3 separate regions of the Homo sapiens genome follow, and regions 2 and 3 are each linked to region 1. The links are contacts of gene promoters, found by promoter capture Hi-C in blood cells and fetal thymus (Javierre and others, 2016). All regions are on one chromosome and are shown on one strand. The core of a region is centred on a gene start or on the middle of the fragment in contact, and the rest is flanking DNA. Distances in the headings are between cores, read along the strand shown.

Region 1 (4,341 bases), core at 841-3,340:
AGGGAGACCCTGCCTGTACCAAAAAAATTTAAAAAATTAGCCAGGCATGGGGGCAGGTGACTGTAGTCCCAGTTACTTAGGAGGCTGAGGCAGGAGGATGGCTCGAGCCCAGAAGTTTGAGGTTACAGTGAGCTATGATAACATCACTGCACTCCAGCCTCAGCAACAGAGTGAGACCTTGTCTCTAAAAATGAAAGGAAAAATAAGTGAACTAAGGAAACTTTAAAATTTATTTTTATGGCCGGGCGCGGTGGCTCATGCCTGTAATCCTAGCACTTTGGAAGGCCGAGGCGGGTGGATCACGAGGTCAGGAGATCGAGACCATCCCGGCTAACGTGGTGAAACCCCATCTCTACTAAAAATACAAAAAATTAGCCGGGCGTGGTGGTGGGCGCCTGTAGTCCCAGCTACTCGGGAGGCTGAAGCAGGAGAATGGCATGAACCCGGGAGGCGGAGCTTGCAGTGAGCGAGATTGCACCACTGCACTCCAGCCTGGGTGACAGAGCAAGACTCGGTCTCAAAAAAAAATTTTTTTTAATTTTTATTTTTTGAGACAGGGTCTCACCCTGTCACCCAGGCTGAAGTGCATGCAGTGCCACGATCTTGGCTCACTGTAGCCTCAACTTCCTAGGCTCAAGGTCCTCCTACTTCAGCCTCCCAAGTAGCGGGGACCACAGCTGTGAGCCACCATGCCTGGCTAATTTTTTTTTTTTTTTTTTTTTTTGAGATGGAGTCTCGCTCTGTCGCCCAGGCTGGAGTGCAGTGGCGCGATCAGGGCTCACTGCAAGCTCTGCCTCCCGGGTTCACGCCATTCTCCTGCCTCAGCCTCCCGAGTAGCTGGGACTACAGGAGTCCGCCACTGCGCCCGGCTAATTGTTTGTATTTTTAGTAGAGATGGGGTTTCACCGTGGTCTCGATGTCCTGACCTCGTGATCCACCCGCCTCGGCCTCCCAAAGTGCTGGGATTACAGGCGTGAGCCACTGCGCCTGGCCGCCTGGCTAATTTTTTATTTCCTGTAGAGACAGAGTCTCACTAGGTTTGTTGCCCAGACTGATCTCGAACTCCTGGGCTCAGGTGATCCTCCCGCCTCAGCCTCCCAAAGTGCTGGGATTACAGGAGTGAGCCACCATGCCCTGCCTGCATGTTTATATTATTCAGCCTTAAAAAGGAATGAAATTCGGATACATGCAGTTTTTTACATATTTAATGCCATTAAAAATATACTCTTTAGAAATAGACCAGGCGTGGTGGCTCACGTCTGTAATCCCAGCACTTTAGGAGGCTGAGTTGGGAGGATCACCTGAGCCCAGGAGTTCGAGACCAGTCTGGGCAACAAACATAGTGAGACCTCTTCTCTACAGAAAATGAAAAATTAGTCAGGCATGGTGGCTAACACCTGTGGTCCCTGCTACTTGGGAGACTGAAGCAGGAGGACCTCTTGACCCCAGGAGGTGAAGGCTACAGTGAGCCAAGACGGTGGCACTGCACTCCAGCCTAGGCGACAGAGAGAGACCTTGTCTTAAAAACAACCAACCACAATAAACTCTTTAGAAATAGAAAACGATACTATGAATATAATGTGGCTTTCTCATAAAGTGTTTTTGTTTTTGGTTTGTTTTTGTTTGGTTTGGGTTGCTTTTTTTTTTTTTTTTTTTTTTTTTGAGGCGGAGTCTCTCTGTTGCCCAGACTGGAGTGCAGTGGCGCGATCTCGGCTCACTGCAATCTCCGCCTCCCGGGTTCAAGCGGTTCTCCTGCCTCAGTCTCCCAAGTAGCTGGGTGCCCGCCACCATGCCCGGCTATCTCATAAAGTTAACATGGGAAGGCTATGGACAACTGCAGGTATTCGCGTTTATTTTCACCTTTAAAGAAAACGAAAAGTATCCACTCCAAAAACTGGTTCCTTTCTACAACCTGAACTTTGGAGATTTTCAAGACCAGCCACAAGGCCTCTACTCCTACGGCCTGGCCCTCCTCCCCGCCCGGTTCGCGCTAGACTCCATTTCCCAGAAACCCCGGTGTCTTGGTGGAGACAGCATTTCCCGGGCGCCCCCTCACGGGGCGGGGCAGTGCGGCGCGGCTCCGGTTCCCGGCGGCCCTCGCGGCAGGTTTCGGGCTTCAGGACAATTCGTGATGGCGGGGGCTGGTTCCGCCGCTGTATCGGGGGCAGGGACCCCGGTGGCGGGGCCCACAGGCCGCGACCTTTTCGCCGAAGGGCTGCTGGAGTTCCTGCGACCCGCTGTGCAGCAGCTCGACTCTCACGTACACGCCGTCAGGTGCCCGGGAGGGAAGTTGGGGGCGGGGCCTGTCTCTCTGGCTTTGTAGGGGCGGGGCCAAGAAAGTGTTCTGGCTGGGAGTGGGCATAAATTTAGGAAACTGATTCGAGGCGGGGAGGACAGGCGGGAAGGCCGCAGGTGGAGGGTTCAGCGGAGGCCGGCTTCTCTCAGTACTTGGTAAATACGTAGGGGAGTTCGTTTCCTGAGCTCCGGTAACTGCCTGACCTTGTAGGCCTTGTACCTCTTTGCAGAGAGAGCCAGGTAGAGCTCCGGGAACAAATTGACAACCTAGCCACAGGTGAGTGAGCATCCCTGTGTACCCGGAATTCTTCAGCCCACTTTCAGGACCTTAGGTTTTTGCCAACCCCTGGGCTGAGTTTCTGTCACTTGCTTCCAGGGCATCAGGGCTGCCAAAGGACTCCTCCTTTCAGGGATGTCTTAAATCTCTAATGGCTGTGGCCCGTTTGGGTGCAAGTGTTTTCCATCCCATTACCAGCCTGCTTTCCCTCAGAACAAGAGATAAGCCGTTAGATCTTAGCTGCACCTTACTTCCATCCCCAGAACTGTGCCGCATAAATGAGGATCAGAAGGTGGCCCTGGATCTTGACCCCTATGTTAAGAAGCTACTTAATGCCCGGCGACGCGTTGTCTTGGTTAACAACATTCTACAGAATGCTCAGGTAAAAGAATATCTTACCAACAGTGATTCTTTGCCCTTTTTTGTAAGTCCTCAACACAGTGAAAGCCACTGTAATTTTAAAATTCTTTGGGGAAAGGGAAATTCACTTCTCCCAGTACTTGAAAAATACCTAGGAAAATTCGTCTCATTCTCACTATTCAGTTGCTGCCATTTACATTCTTGTGTGTGTGTGTGTGACAGTCTCCCTCTGTCACCCAGGCTGGAGTGCGGTGGCTCAATCTCAGCTCGCTGCAACCTCCGCCCCCTGGGCTCAAGCAATTCTGCCTCCGCCTCCCGAGTAACTAGGACTACAAGCGTGCACAACGCCCAGCTAATTTTTGTATTTTTTTGTAGAAGTAGGGTTTCTCCATGTTGCCCAGGCTGGTCTGGAACTCCTGGGCTCAAGTGAGCTTCCCACCTTGGCCACCCGAAGTGCTGAGACTACAGGAGTGAACCACCACACCTGGCTATTTATTTTTATGATACAAGGTCTATCACCCAGGATGGAGTGCAGTGGCATGATAAAGGCTCACTGCAGCCTCTACCTCCCAGGCTCAAGCGATCCATCCACCTCAGCCTCCCAAGTAGCTGGGACTACAGGCATGCACCACCATGTCCAGCTAATTTTTGTATTTTTTCTAGAGACAGGGTTTCACCATGTTACCCAGGCTGGTCCCAAACTCCTGCATGCGAGTGATCCACCTGCCTGGGCCTCCCAAAACGCTGGGATTACAGGCGTGAGCCACTGCACCCGGCCTGCCTGGCCTTTTTTTTTTTTTTTTTAAATAAAAAGACAGGATCGGCTGGGCGCGGTGGCTCTTGCCTGTAATCCCAGCAGTTTGGGAGGCCGAGGTGGACAGGTCACCTGAGGTTGGGAGTTGGAGACCAGCCTGACCAACATAGAGAAACCCCGTCTCTACTAAAAATACAAAATTAGCTGGGCGTGGTAGCGCATGCCTGTAATCCCAGCTACTTGGGAGGCTGAGACAGAAGAATCACTTGAGCCCGGGGGACGGAGGTTGCGGTGAGCTGAGATCGCACCATTGCACTTCAGCCTGGGCAACAAGAGCGAAACTCCGTCTCGGGAAAAAAAAAAAAAAAAAAAAAAGACAGGCTATCACTATGGTGCCCAGGCTGTTCTCAAACTGGGCTCAAGTGATCTTCCTGCCACTTCCTCCTAAATGGTGCTGGGATAGGCATGAGCACCATGCCTGGCCTACATTTTTTTTTTTTTTTGAGATGGAGTTCTCCCTCTGTCACCCAGGCTAGAGTGCAGTGGCACGATCTCATTTCATTGCAACCTCCACCTCCCGGTTTCAAGCGATTCTCCTGCCTCAGATTACAAGCACCCGCCACCATGCCCAGCTAATTTTTTTGTATTTTTTAGT
Region 2 (4,341 bases), core at 846-3,345, 580 kb after region 1:
TGCATGGTTTCTTTTTGTGTTTTCCTGATAGCAAACTTGAGTTTCCCCTTTAAATTAAAAAAAAAATCCAAACCTACCTTTAAAATATCCACAGGTACAATGGGGATTATGTATTGGGGCAGACTTTCTCATTTACAAGCAAAATTTCACTGGTTGTTTTTTCTTTTCTTTTCTTTTTTTTTTGTTTCAGGACTTGATTTCATTGGGGTTGAGGGGTCAAATTATCCCCCAAAATTATCCCCCAGACTGCTCCTGGTATGATACATCCAGGTGCCTAACTGCCCCAGATATTTTTGTAGATTTTTATGAGCTGAAATATCTGTGGATATGTCATTTTTATGTCTTTCTGCTTTTTCTCTTTCTGCCTTTTTCTCTCATTTTTCTGTGTCCACTTACCTTTCTGTTCATTTAATGAATATTTGACAGTTACACTGATTGCTTTCTGCTAATGGAATGGAAACCCTAGTCTGTTGTTTAGAGCATTTCCATCTATTCTGTTCCTTAATGCTTCCTCAGCTCTCTCTCTTCCTCAGCCATGACCGTATATCCTGAATAGGAACATACCAGTTAGGTGTCTACGTTCCTCCTTTCCATCCCAGTTGAAGTCATCAGTGTGCAGAAAAAAATTCTTGCATCAAGAGCCTAGATTAAATAACCTGTTAGATCATGTCTAACTCTAGGATTGTGTATAAGTGCTAATGCAACTTGGATTCCATCGAGCCAGGATAAGATGGATGTCAATGAGAAGAAAGTGTGGTATCAATGAAGGAGAAAAGAATGTGGTTTGTAACTTGTCTGTACTGAGATTGGACTTTGGTTTTGAGAATATTGTCATTATTAAGTGGTTTAGGATTTCCCTGGTGCAATTTTAATATTTTCCTGGGAAAGTCTTTACAATGAATATATTTTCCTCTAAGAAAGAAGATTTTTGCATTATTAAATGTTTAGAAGAATTTTAGATGGGCTTTGTATTAGAATACTTCTAATGTGGTGTTAGAATACTTCTCTTCAGTGGCACAGCATCTGAATGTCAGACTTTTCATTTCATTCTTATAAGCTTTTTTCCAGTAGGAGGGAAGGATTGAAGAGTTATTTAATATATATTATTCTAGCAAGAAAATAAGGGTGCTCTTGTCCCTTCTTCAGACAGGTTCTTGTTTTTACTGTGCCTTTGGCTGAAGGGAAGAATCCTGGTTCTTGTTAGAAATTCTCACCCTTATTTTTTAAGAAAGGACATTTTTTTTTTTCTGAAAATATATGTATACATGAAGCACAAAAAAGGAATGTGGAAGGTGGTTTGATTGCTTTTGGATTTCTCCAGTAGAAACTGTATCCCAGCTTCCGTATTACCAACAAACACAAGGACAGTGTATACTCCCGTTGTCTGTGCCATGACCATAGCAGGTCAGGTTTCAAGTTCTATATGAGTAAGGTTAGGACAGTAACTATCATTCATACCTGATTTTTCAGTCTTGTTCATTGTCTTTTGAAGAGGACAGCTCTATAGGGGCTTTTCTTATACAGTTAAACCAATAAGATCTATAAACTTGACTTCTGCTGAGTATGCATTTTTAATCTAATTCTCATAGCAGATAGTTTTCAATGCCCTCAGTTCGGGTTTCAAACCCACCCTTCTTCACTGCTCTTTCACTAACCATTATGTGGTAACCATTTGTGTTTCTCTATCAGTGCTACTATCCTTCTTCAGACTGCCTACAGTATTTTTTGTCTTATACTAGATAAATAGGTGTAGTTTGCATGTTATGGTTTAAATTGGCTGCTGCCATTTCACTGAATTGACCACTAAATCAACCTGAGGACCTTAAAGATACTGCTTTGAGCATTGGGTGGTTGTCTGTCTGTCCCCCCCCCCACCCCCATTCCTGCTTTGTAACAAAAACTGAAAGTAGCTATGAAATCATAATCTTATTAAAACCCTGGTACTCTGAGATATCCTTTTCTAAAGAGTGTTTCCTTACCTTTGAAGCCCAAGAATTTCTTTTTTTTTGTTTTGTTTTTTGTTTTTGTTTGTTTTGAGACAGTTTCACTCTTGTTGCCCAGGCTGGAGTGCAATGCCGCGATCTCAGCTCACTGCAACCTCCACCTCCCAGGTTCAAGCCATTCTTCTGCCTCAGCCTCCCGCGTAGCTGGGATTACAGGCATGTGCCACCACGCCCAGCTAATTTTGTATTTTTAGTAGAGACAGGGTTTCTCCATGTTGGTCAGGCTGGTCTCGAACTCCCGACCTCAAGTGATCCACCCACCTCGGCCTCTCAAAGTATTAGGATTATAGGTGTGAGCCACCACACCTGGCCTTCTGATTACTAAATTTTAGTCATACTTTTGGCTGCCAAAAAAATTAATACATTGATGTTTTCTATACATGCTTTGTACTGGCATTTAATAGTGAAGTTACTTCACTATTTTTCTTTATTCTCAGGTGCATGGAGGACTGCAACAGAGGAGTGGGGGACTGAAGATTGGAATGAAGATGTAGGTATTCCCAGGTCATTCCTCACTAATGCCTTCTATCCCTAAGTGTTGTTTAGGGATAGAAAATGGGTATGTTTCTACCCCTCAAAATTCACCCTTAAGATTCTGACCCAAAACTTTTACATCCAAAATAGTGTTCTGAGCCAGAACATTTCACATATGTTATATGAAGGAGACTGGGCATGAACAGGACTCTGTGGAACCACACTATGGAAAGGGCAAGTGCACTTGTGTAAGTCCAATATCTGATTGTCGGATTTATCCCAGGAAGAGATTGGTGGTTGGGTAGGGCACCAGAAGTGGAGTTAGGCAGGTAGTGCATTGAGTAACAGCTGCTGGTGGTACATGACTACTTGGTGCATTTAAGTATTTGCTATAAGGTCCTGTAATGGATTGGCAGTGGATCCAAAGCGAGTGTTGTGGTACCAAATCCTCAAACTTGTAATCTGGTTGACTCTGGAACCCTTGTATTTATTTGAAGCCCAACTGTATAATTGTGATTGAGATGAATATCTGTAGAATTGGCTATCTGCCAGCTTGACTTAACTTGGAAACCTCATAGATGGGTGGCACGTAAACAAGCTCTGTGAATTCATTTGAGTACTACCTGAGTAAGAATTTTGCTGATTCCTGGTCACAGTCAAGCTTCTGCTGTGAATTATGGTTTTCAGTGATCATGGATAAACTCTTGTTTTAACATTTTTAATCTATGTACTTTTCTATACTTTCATGTAGTTAGGCAAGACAGCTTTTGTGATAAGAGGAAATGACATGTGAAGACTGTTTTGGTTGCCAATTCTGGGTTTTTTAAATTTCAGAGGCATCAGCATCACAGGGTGATTATTTTCTATTGTATAATCAATGAACTAGACTGCTTTGTGAAAATGGGCAAATTATGTTCCTTTCTGAGATTTGGCTTGTCCGCTTAAGCAACTTTCAGAGAATGATAAATGGTGTTGGGCATTGAGGGGAGAGTGGATTTTCTGTGCTTTAGCGATTTTAATCAAGAAATAAAACTGAAACCCAAATCAACTTTTGAATAGTAGGAAAAGTTAATCCCTGCATTTGCTTACCTAAGTTTGATGCCTTAATAGTGGAAGGACTAGATGTCACAAAGTCAAATATTAAGGCAAAAATAACATCTAGTTAAAACGATCTCCCATAAAAACCTTAATTCAGCAGCACTTGGGCCCTTACTGCTCAAAAGCTAAAAATGAACTTCTTTTATTTATTTCTTCATCTTGGTTATGATCTTTCTTTGGGAGGGGTGGGGCTGTGAAGGGAGTAGTAGAAGACAAATGTGGTTTGGGAAGAGGTGGGAGTTGGGAACTGTAATGGGAAAATATAGAGGGATTTTCTTTCTTTTATTTTTTTTTTTTTATGTCTAGCATGCCTGTAAGTTCAGTATGCATATGATCATGTGACTCCACTATATTTTATTGGGTTCCTTGCTTCTACTCTTTCTTTGGCTAAAACTATTGAGCATATATTGAAGGGCTTGAAAGTCAATCCATTCAGGATTCCTCAGGGTAGATAGTTTTCTCTTTATAGGGCTTTCACTTTTTCTTGATGTTGAATTCCCCTTACCTATGCCAAGTTTCTGACTGTAGCATCCCTGACACCAAGAGTGACTAATCCCTCTGTTTTCCAGCTTTCTGAGACCAAGATCTTCACTGCCTCTAATGTGTCTTCAGTGCCTCTGCCTGCGGAGAATGTGACAATCACTGCTGGTCAGAGGCAAGTGTGCAGTAAAATTTAGTACCATTTCTTAAACACATCTGCTGAGATTACTGTAAAGAGAAGTGGCACTGGCCTTTGTAAACTCCCATGGTGTCAATAATAATAACC
Region 3 (4,341 bases), core at 960-3,459, 520 kb after region 1:
TCTGCTTTGATAGCTTTACAAAAAAGAAAGAACATTTCCACCACACCCACTACCATTCCTCCAAATTTCTGAATTTTCTCCTTTCTATTCCTCCAGCCATCCCCTTAGCTTCACCCTCTAATACAGCGACAATCTTCCCCCTGGCCTCCATCTCACAATGAAGTATATAGGTTAGAGTCCAAGTAAACCCATCCTGGATGGGTTTTCTCTAAGAAACAAGGAAAGAAGGAGGCAGCCTGCAGGTGGATGGATAAATTCTAATGGTAGGAAAACCTCTTTCCATGACTGCCTCCCCGCTACCTTTACTGGTGGGAGGTACCCTGACTGCAACAGTATACAAGAATTTAATATGCCCCGCACACCACCCAGTTCAGATGCTTATCCAAGTGCCTGGTAAACACGATCTCTCTTCTATAGCCCAGATTGTGCCTGAATTCTATTACCCTGATTTCTTCCTGGCAGGCAGGAGTTGGTGCAGCTATAGAAACAGCCTGGGCCACTAGCTCCGATGAGGAAGAATATAGACCAAAAGACTCCTTTTTAACCATCAGGACTGGCACAAAAACTTCCACATACAAACATGAGAAGCTGAAGAGACTAGGAAGGGAAGCAGAGGGCTGGGGCTACAATCTAGCCACCAGGCAAAGAAAATCGAGAAGTCAACATAAGCTGAAATCATTAAGAAACCATTTGTGCCTCTAACTACACTACTCAAAACACCACAAAGACAAGTATTCTCTGCTTCTGCCTCTTCCAGAAAAATAGATGTTCTCTGTAACAACACACATTTCTCCTCACAAACCCAACAAGGCCATGGATCAAGAGCAAGTCAGGCTATCAGGCAAGACCTAGGAGACACTGCTAGTAAAATGACTTACCCCCCTCAGACGAAAAATACAACTAGATTTAGAGGAAGCTCATGAAATGTAAGACATCATGCAGCTCACCAGTAGTTACCCAAACTGGAGTAGAAGATAACAGGCTATGGGGCGGGGGTGTACAGTTGCCATGACAGCAAGCTGGCTCAGGCAGTTTCTCCCACAAATCAGCATTTACAATAGAATTCTTAGCAAGGCTGAAAAGGGAGAGGGGGAAAACACATCTTGGTGCCCTCCTAAGAGCATGCACACATGAACAAGCCTGTATCAAAAGCAGAACCTGAGATGGGAGTCCTAGAAAAAGCTTCAGAGACCCCCTCCAGGGTGGAGTGGTAGGGAATGGGACCTTGCCTTTCTCTTTTCTCCTAGCACAGAGGATCAGTTCTCTTTACAATGAAACAAAAGCCTGCAGAATCAAGATCTGATACTTTGTTTAAAGGAACAAGGAAGACAAGCTGACTTTTCCCTCATGAGTCTATGCACAGTGCCTGTCCCTTTCAGGTCAAATAATACCAATGGGTACCAAGAGATTGAACAGGCCTACTTTTTGCAGACCAGGCTACCTGTGGCCCTGGGAAACGTTAAGCTCTGCACTTTCCTAATCATCTTAGGTTTTAGCATGCCCATCCAGATGCGGTTTTGGTGTTTCAGCTGACCTATCTCTGCCCAGTGTGGAGGATATACAGTACTCTGTGGTTCTTCCCTTCAAGTAATAATAGGATTCTCCACTGCCCAGGAAGCAAAGATCCTGGGTGAGGGATTGGGGAAAGAGTAGAATGCCCCAGCAACTCAGTCACATTACCAGATGGCTGACAACACCTTCGGCTATCCTCCACTCCAAAGAGATTTCCCAAATATGTCAACCCCTCCAGGCAAGAAACTGACAGTGTGATGGTACTCTCAGGCAGAACAGGGCCAAGGACAGAAGGGGATTAGCCTAAATCTGGCTTTCTGCCACACTGGGGTTTCTCTTATTAGATAAAAGCCACAGATAAAATTCAAATGAAAGAGTATCAGAAAGTTAGGCTTGAGCCCTGTGAGTAAAGGACTATTTGAGTTCACTGTGCTCACAAATGCATTACCCAGGGAGATACCGTGTCCTTGGGGAATTTAAACTTCACCAAAGGGGAGGCAAGTTGGAAGGGAGTAGAGCTATCTGCCCCACAGTAAACAAAGGCGGAGCCTAAGCAGGGGTAAAGGGCTATCTGCCTCTCCCCTGTGAGTGTGTGTTCTAGTACTGGGGAAAGAGAAAGGAAAGCAAAGCAACCAAAGAAAGGTTGCTTAGTCCACCAGGCCCACGAATAGAAGAGAACCACACAACAGTCAAGCATTCTAACCTCTCCAGAGACTAGGAATTTAGGATTAAGGCCAGAATCAAAGCCCACTCCCTCGGTAGTACTCTTAAGGTTTTTGTTATTACTTTTTTTTTTCTTTTTGAGGCAGAGGTAGTGTGCTGACCTTACACTCCCGCAGTTGACCCCTCACTCCCCCAGTGCCGATACTCGCCCAGGCTGGAGTACAGTGGCATGATCCAATCCTGGTTCACTGCCACCTCCGCCTCCAGGGTTGAAGCAATTCTTGTGCCTCAGCCTCCCAAGTAGCTGGGATTACAGGCATGCGCCACCATGCCCAGCTAATTTTTTGTATTTTTAGTAGAGATGGGGTTTCATCAGATCCACAGGTGGACCTCAGATCCACCCGCCTAGGCCTCCCAAAGGGCTGGGATTACAGGTGTGAGCCACCGCACCCAGCCTCTTAAGTTTTTTAGACTAGAAAAAAATTAAAAAGAGAAAAATATCAGGGACAATTAGGAGAGAGTTATTAAAAACAGATAAGGTGAACTGTACATTTATAAATGGTTAAAATGGTAAATTTTACATGTATTTTTATCACCACTACCACAAAAAAAAAGAGATAAGGAAAAAGACTGCATTTAAACATTATGTTGCCATCTGTTTCCATTTAGACAGAAGTAAAAAGGAAATACAGAACTGAAAGTAAATTTGACAAGGTGCTACATTATAAAAGACCAATTTCCAGGCCGAGAGCAGAAAAGAAAGATGGATCCTAGAACACCAGTGTCTCAGTTTTAGACTCATCTAGCTTCCCAACAAGGGTGGCTTGGATGTTCACACAAAGTAACCAGGAAAATAATTAAGTGACAATCCCACTAACAGCATGAGATACCATCAGAGAGTGCAGTTTCCCGCTCCAGAGGAGGGAGGAGTCTGCAAAACCCACATTCCAGAATGCCTTAAGAGGATAACAGGTAGCCCAAGCAACCCCCCTCCCTTCCCACAGGTGTCTCCTCCTCAGTAGGGGTTCAAAGTTCAGCAGAGCAGCAGAAAGTCAAAAGATTAAGCTTCTTCAGGCTGGGGAGTAGAAGAAATGATTTCATCAATATTTAACTATAACTCTACTTCCCCATTCTGAGGACTTCCTCACTAGACCTCAGCTCAATAAGCAAATTTGGCAGGCTCTGAGTGAAAGTAGCTTAAGAAACATCACCCCAGGACAGGCGCAGTGGCTCATGCCTGTAATCTCAGCACTTTGGGAGGCTGAGGCAGGCAGATCACTTGAGGTCAGGAGTTTGAAACCAGCCTGGCCAACATGGTGAAACCCCATCTCTACTAAAAATAAAAAAATAAAATAATAAAAAAAAATCGCCGAGTGTGGTGGTGGATGCCTGTAATCCCAGCCACTCAGGAGGCTAAGGCAGGAGAATCACTTGAGCCTGGGAGGTGGAGGTTGCAGTGAGCAGAGATCGTGCAACTGCATTCCAGGCTGGGCTACAGAGCAAGTCTCCATCTAAAAAAAAAAAGAGGGGGGATGGGAGGCAGGAATCACCCACCTTAGAACTACTCCTAGAATGTCCATATTTAAATACTGAGCCTAAGATTCTGCAGCTCAACACATGGCCAGTTCCTCTGTCTTCCCCTTTAAAGCTATCTGGTCTCCAGAACAAAGGAGATGAGAAAGTGCCACTGGCCATAAAGAGTCACCCAGCCAGTCCATCTCACTTGCACAGATAATAAGAAGTTGTTGGCAAACTGAACAGAGGAAAAAAATCTACCTAGAAAAAGGTGTCTGAGGAAGACAACAAGCTCCCATCCCAGCATCTCCATGACCACTTATAAAAATAAGTGAGTATTCCAACAATCTTTAAGTATTTAAACTGGAGGGCAGCTGTCCCCCAATTACCATCCTTTTCTGAAATCCACCCCTCCCCCTCCCAAAAACATTCTCAGTTATTTCCCAGAGGAGCAGCCAAAAAGAAAAACAAAAACAAAAACTTACCAAGGGAAAGAACAAAGAACAAAGAATAAACCACATGAGTACTTTCACTGGATCTTGAATTTTAGCAACAGTTACTTTACTCTCTCAAGATCCTCCAAAACAAAGCCTCAACTCGTATCAGCTCCATCTATTAGACTGCACCCTAGACCTTGGAAAATCTTATGGC

Evidence for each region. Contacts are between HindIII fragments. The CHiCAGO score rates a contact against its expected background, and 5 or more counts as called.
Region 2: a fragment that was not itself captured here is called in contact with the fragment with the promoter of SNAPIN in region 1 in 3 of 17 cell types (total B cells, naive B cells and erythroblasts); the score reaches 6.0 in total B cells.
Region 3: a contact is called between a fragment that was not itself captured here and the fragment with the promoter of SNAPIN in region 1, in 2 of 17 cell types (M0 macrophages and total B cells). The highest score is 6.1, in M0 macrophages.

Annotation. Positions count from the first base shown.
Region 1 is chr1:153,656,613-153,660,953 of GRCh38, forward strand. It overlaps SNAPIN (SNAP associated protein), which reads left to right and starts at 2,091. Exons shown (of 4, transcript NM_012437.6): 1 at 2,091-2,274; 2 at 2,526-2,572; 3 at 2,836-2,954. The coding sequence starts at 2,132. RefSeq lists an enhancer at 1,857-1,936. The HindIII fragment of the contact is 14,460 bases long and covers 1-4,341 here.
Region 2 is chr1:154,239,073-154,243,413 of GRCh38, forward strand. It overlaps UBAP2L (ubiquitin associated protein 2 like), which reads left to right. Exons shown (of 27, transcript NM_014847.4): 9 at 2,441-2,493; 10 at 4,145-4,230. Among named protein-coding and RNA genes, the nearest start is that of SNORA58B, 18 kb to the right of the region's middle. The HindIII fragment of the contact is 2,081 bases long and covers 1,056-3,136 here.
Region 3 is chr1:154,177,236-154,181,576 of GRCh38, forward strand. All of the region lies in intron 2 of TPM3 (tropomyosin 3), which reads right to left. Among named protein-coding and RNA genes, the nearest start is that of TPM3, 13 kb to the right of the region's middle. RefSeq lists an enhancer at 2,958-3,954. The HindIII fragment of the contact is 2,058 bases long and covers 1,181-3,238 here.